Regions from separate parts of the Homo sapiens genome. Here region 1 is linked to region 2. The links are contacts of gene promoters, found by promoter capture Hi-C in human tissues and cell types (Jung and others, 2019). All regions are on one chromosome and are shown on one strand. Each heading gives the region's core, a stretch centred on a gene start or on the middle of the fragment in contact. The rest is flanking DNA. Distances are from core to core; before and after follow the strand shown.

The links. Contacts are between HindIII fragments. The study calls those that stand out against the background at their distance.
Region 1: a contact is called between a fragment that was not itself captured here and the fragment with the promoter of TEAD3 in region 2, in 1 of the 25 tissues and cell types used here (spleen).

What each region holds. Positions count from the first base shown.
Region 1 is chr6:36,037,646-36,040,345 of GRCh38, forward strand. All of the region lies in intron 1 of MAPK14 (mitogen-activated protein kinase 14), which reads left to right. Among named protein-coding and RNA genes, the nearest start is that of MAPK14, 11 kb to the left of the region's middle. RefSeq lists a silencer at 976-1,025. The HindIII fragment of the contact is 3,983 bases long and covers 1-2,700 here.
Region 2 is chr6:35,495,629-35,498,328 of GRCh38, forward strand. It overlaps TEAD3 (TEA domain transcription factor 3), which reads right to left and starts at 1,451. Exons shown (of 13, transcript NM_003214.4): 1 at 1,270-1,451. It overlaps TULP1 (TUB like protein 1), which reads right to left. Exons shown (of 15, transcript NM_003322.6): 15 at 2,246-2,700. The coding sequence ends at 2,699. It overlaps LOC124901309 (a long non-coding RNA gene), which reads left to right and starts at 2,505. Exons shown (of 2, transcript XR_007059561.1): 1 at 2,505-2,579. RefSeq lists enhancers at 1-480, 1,427-2,357, 2,358-2,700 and silencers at 1,259-1,308, 1,489-1,618, 1,629-1,958. The HindIII fragment of the contact is 31,199 bases long and covers 1-2,700 here.

The sequences.
Region 1 (2,700 bases), core at 197-2,696, 540 kb after region 2:
AGATGAAATGTGAACAAAAGAGACAAAAATTTCTGCCTTAAGAAGCTATATTCTGGCCAGGTGCAGTGAGTGGCTCACACCTGTAATTCCTGCACTTTGGGAGGCCAAGGTAGGTTTCCTTGAGCCCAGTAGTTAGAAACCAGCATCCTGGGAAAAATGGGGAGGCTCCTCTACTAAAAAATAAAAATAAAAAATTAGGGATGCTTGGTGGCACACTCCTGTAGTTCCAACTACTTGGGAGGCTGAGGTGGAGGGATTGCTTGAGCCTAAGAGGATTGCTTGAGCCTGGGAAGTTGAGGCTGTAGTGAGCTGTGATCCTGCCACTGTACTCCAGCTTGGGTGACAGAGTGATACCCTGTCTCCAAAAAGAAAAAAAAAAGGAAGCTATATTCTAATGGGGATGGCAGTGGAAGTAGATAATAAACAAAATATATAGTGTGTCAGATAAGTGCTGTGGAGAAAATGCAAGAAGGGAAGGAGAGTGAGTGCTAGGATGGCTGTTGCACTTTTAAGAAAGGTGAATACGGTAAGCATCATTGATAAAGTAACAATTGAGCAAAAACCTGAAGAAGGTGATATAGGACACTGGTTGGACATGGGTGAGGATGTGATAACATTCTAGGCTGAGGATTAGCAAGTGTGCAAAAGCCCTGAGGTAAGGGCCCTGTGCTCCAGGAAATAGCTAAGAGACCAGTACAGCTAGAGCTAAATGAACCAGGGGCCAAATATAGGGAGAAAAGTGGGGTGAGGAGAGGGTTGCAGATATGCAGGGATCATGTAGGGTCTTATTTGCCTTTGTACAGACTGTGACTTTTCCTTTAAGTGAGAGGGGAAGCCTTGGAGGGTTATGACCAGAGGAAGGACATGACCTAAATCTTGTTTTAACAGATTACTGTGCTCTAGGGTCCCAAGTTTTTCGTTTCGGTTCCTTACCCATTCTACCCTAAACCACTACTGTGAATAGGATAGAACGGTGGAGTTAGATGAATTGGTGCAAGCCCTGACCCATGCTCACAACTCTCATTCCAGCAGTCCCAGAGTGCCAGAGCCAGTATTTTTGTTGGGCCCTAGAAATTTAGGGTATTCCAGTCCAGCTCTTTAAATAACATGGGCTGACTTTACTTTTTCAGGTTTTTGTTGCCAAAAGGAAGGAGCAGAGATTAGCTCTTGAGTTTAGCTGAAAAAGGAAGATTAGTCTGCTGGCAGATTGAGTGTTTTTTAACTTCTTTGGCTTTTAGGGTTTTTCTTACTTTTGGATCATGTTTTAAAAGTCATTTTTACCTTCTTTCAACAGTTAAACATTTAAGTTTTATTTGATTTTATTTGACCCTTTTTCTGCTTTACATTCCTCTGCCTTTTCCCCATTATAATACTTTTAGTAGAGGTTAGACCATTGTTATCTGTCATTAATGTCTTAGCTTTGAGGCCCCAAGGACTTCTCTGTTAAACTTAAATATATCATATAGATTGAAAGATTATCTACAGACATGTGATCCTATAAAAACCCATATTATTTATTGTCCTCCCTGCCTTTACAGATGTAAACCCCTCTCCTCTTTTCATCAGAGCTCCCCCTCTTTTACTGCTCTATCATCAGGTTGCAGAAAATAAGTTTTCCTGCAAACATAGATTCCCATGGCAACATAACAAAAAGGTAATAGAACAAATGTTTATTTTGTCTAGACCTGCTGTCTGAGTACCATTAGACCCTGAACATGTTGGCTCCTGTTATTTGAATATGTGGTTACAAATTCCTTATTTTCCTCAAAACTTACTTCTCTTAGGCCTTGGTGATATTGTCACTGTGCCTGTGATATGAAGGAAGGTGTGTGTGTGTGTGAGTATGTGTGTCTTACTGTCATTCTACTCAAAAGTGTGTATTGATTGCATTTTCAAACTTATGGCTTAAAATGTAGACACCACACAATCTGAGCATGTGAAGAAAAAAAGCATACCAGTTTTGTTCTTTGTTTTCGTAAGTTCATTAATTTAATATTTCCAGTGCACTATACTAGATATTTTGTTTACAGAGATTTTAAAAAAAAGAAGGGTCCCTCCTTTCGAAAGTATCAGTCCAGGCTGGGTGCAGTGGCTCACGCCTGTAATCCCAGCACTTTGGGAGGCCAAGGTGGGCGGATCACTTGAGGTCAGGAGTTTGAGATCAGCCTGGCCAACATGGTGAAACCCCATCTCTACAAAAATTAGTTGGGCATGGTGGTGTGTGCCTGTAATCCCAGCTATTCAGGAGGCTGAGGCACAAGAATCACTTGAACCCGGGAGGCGGAGGTTGCAGTGAGCCGAGATCACTCCCCTGCACTCCTGTCTGGGCGATAGAGCAAGACTCAGTCTCAAAAAAAAAAAAAAAAAGAAAGTATCAGTCCAGAGGAGACATATTTATGTTTCCTCATAGATGGCTTTGGAAGTCCTCTGTAGTTTTGGATCTTGAAGCATTTTAGGTTTTGGATTTTCAGATTAGGGATACTCAACCTGTATAACCCAGGGTAATTCAACCTATTGACACTTTAGGTGGGATAATGTTTTGTTGTGGGGGACTGACCTGTGCAGTGTAGTATGTTTAGCAGCATCCCTGTCTCCAACTCACTGTATACTAATAGCAATTCCCAGTTGTGACAACCAAAAATGTCTAGACATTGCCACATATCTCTTGACGGGTAGGGAGGGCAAAATCACCTTTAGTTG
Region 2 (2,700 bases), core at 201-2,700:
GTGGGAGGGGGGCTACAGGAGTCTAGAAGGGAGAGGACATAATTCCCCCAAATCTCCAACTTTTGAGGAAAGCCTCCCCTCCTTGCCCCAGGTGGCCCCAGCACTGGGGTGGAACATGTGTACAGAGAACCAGGCCACAAGAGACTGGATACGCAGAGCCGCTATGGGCACCAGCCCCTCTGAGCTGTGTCCAGCCCCTACCCCTATGCCCTGTTCTTCCGGACAACAAGTCCAGGCCTGACCTGGTTCTGCCCCTACCTGGAAAGAGGGAAGACACAGAAGAAGACAGCCCCTGAGAAGTCCGCCCCAAGGCCTCCTTCCCCCTCGCACTGAAAGAATCTCTCAGCCCTGGATCAGGGCCCCTCACCAGGAAAGTTGACAGAGCGGGGTCTCAATGACACTGCCCCAGGGCCCAGCTGGGCTGGAAAACAGATCCAGACCAGCGCTCCCAGCCCTCCCTCCCCTAGCAGGAATAAAGGGCATGACAGACAATGGTGGGGACCGGGGTAGGAAGCGGGAGACCAGCCACCCTCAAACCTTGTCAAGTCTAAACAAGGGCCCTGAGCAAGTGTGGGGAAGAAAAGGCCCCAAATCCAGACCCCTCCGAGCCAAGCTCACAGCGCTCAGGGCTGGAACTCTGAATCAGCACCCCGACGCAGGCGGCAGAACTGAAGGGAACGTGAGCCCCTCCCTGCCTCTCAGGGGACACACGGCCGGGGCGCGCGGCTTTGGTCCCAGACACCCTCCACAACCCAGCGCAGCCGCGGCACCGCGCGCAGAAACCGGCCTGGGCGCTGGGAGGCCGGGCCCGAGGCCTGCGTGGAGCTGAGGCCGGGCGGGCTCCGGGAGCGCGCGGGCCGGGAGTCCAAAGGGCGGCGGGGCCCGGGACTGGGCGCCCCGGATATGAGCTCCAGGGTGGCAGGCAGGCCCTCCACACTGTGCGGCCCCCGGATCCCCGCCCCGACCCCCCAAGCACGGACGGCGGGACAGGCGACGGCACAGGGGACACGGTCTCCCCGGCTTCCCCACCTTCCCGGACCAACTCGTCCCCGTCGCGGGGGGGTGGGGAGGGCGGGGGGCGGGGCTTCCCGGAGAGATTTTCCCCCTTCCCTCTAAACTTCCCGGCACCCCGATCCGGGGCTCCAGCTCCGGCTGGACAATAGCTCGGGGACCCAGTCCCCCTCGAGTGTCGCCCCCCCAGCCAGCCCAGCCGACCAACCAAACCACCTCTCCCGAGCGGGGCCTCCTCCCGGCGTCCGCCCGGCTTACCTGGTCCGAGCTCGCGGGGGCGCTCCGGCCGGGCCGCTCCGCCGGGCCCGAGGGAGCCGCAAGGGGGGCCGGGGAAGGGGGGTCGTGGGGAGGGGGCTGGCCGGAATGTGCGGAATGAGCCGGGCTGGAGCGGGAGGCGCCGAGCGCGGAGGAGGGAGCGAGCGGGACGGAAAGTTTGTGTTGAGGAGCCGGGGCGGGGGTGGGGGCTGCGGGAAGGAGGGGGCGGGGCGCGCAGGGGGCGGTGCTGGCCGGGAGGGGCGGGGCCGTCCAGCCGCGCTCGGGCCGCCTACCCCGCGGCCTCGCGACCCGGCCACCCCGGCTGGCGCGCGCCTGGGCGCCCCGCTCCTCGCCCGCCCGTGCGGAGCTGCCTTCCTCCCCCTGCGCTCCGGGCCTCGCCCCGCTCCCGGGCACCCGCCGGAATTTGGGGCTCCGGCCTGGGGCGGGGCCGAGGGCGGAGCCCTCGCCTCGCGGGCAGGGCTCCCGTCGGTGCCGGGGGCCGTGGGTGCCGCGTCACGAGGAGCCCGGCAGAGCCGGAGCGCACGGGCCCCGGGGCTCCCGGCCCCTCCACCCTAGTCCCGAGCCGCCAAGGCGGAGCGTACCCTCCAGCTCGCGGGCCTGCCCCCCACTCCCGGGGCCCCAGACCCGGCTCCGCCCTGGCGGCTGCGCCCGCCCTGCCGGGACCCGGTTTGTCTGGTTCTCCCCGCGTGGCTAGTTTCTCGAATTTCTTCTCCCTTTCTCCCTCTTCCCCGACCTCCGGGACCCTCCCTTTCGCCCCGGCTCCCCGGGCCCCCACGGGGGGCGTCTCGACGCTGTGCGGCCGCCGAGTTTCGGTAGGACCCGCGACGGGCGCGGGGAGGGGACGCGGGAGCGCCCGGGGCCTGGGCAGGAGTGGGACGGGGGTTGAGACTTCCAGCTCGCGCCTCGGACGCCTCCTGCCGCCTCGTTCTCCGCACGCGCTGAGGAACCACCGCTCCGCTTGGCCAAGGACGCGGCTTTATTGGGGATGTGGGTGCCTGGCCCTCGTCCCCCATCACCTACCCCCTCCTCCTAGCCCGCCCCAGCTCCTCGGAGCCCTAGCGCGGTCCCGGGGAGAGGGGAGGTTAAAACAACAATGACTACTGCTCCCGGACAGGAAGTGACTGGGGCGCGGGGAGGAGGGGGGCACAGCGGCGCAGGCGAGCTCCGAGACCAGATGTGCGGCTCCAACTCCAGATGTTCTTCATCTCCGTCCTACCCGCCGTCCGGGCTCCTCCTGCCTCGGCCTGTGCCAGGCTGGGGAGAGGACGGAGGTCACCGAGAGGCAGTGAGAGGTCAGCCCCGACACAGGAGCAGTTTTCCGCGGGAGCTTTGCTGGAGGGACCCTGCCAGCCTCCACTGAATCCTTTCCCCCACGCTGACGGGCTCTGGGGGCGCTGAGGGGCTGCTGGGGTC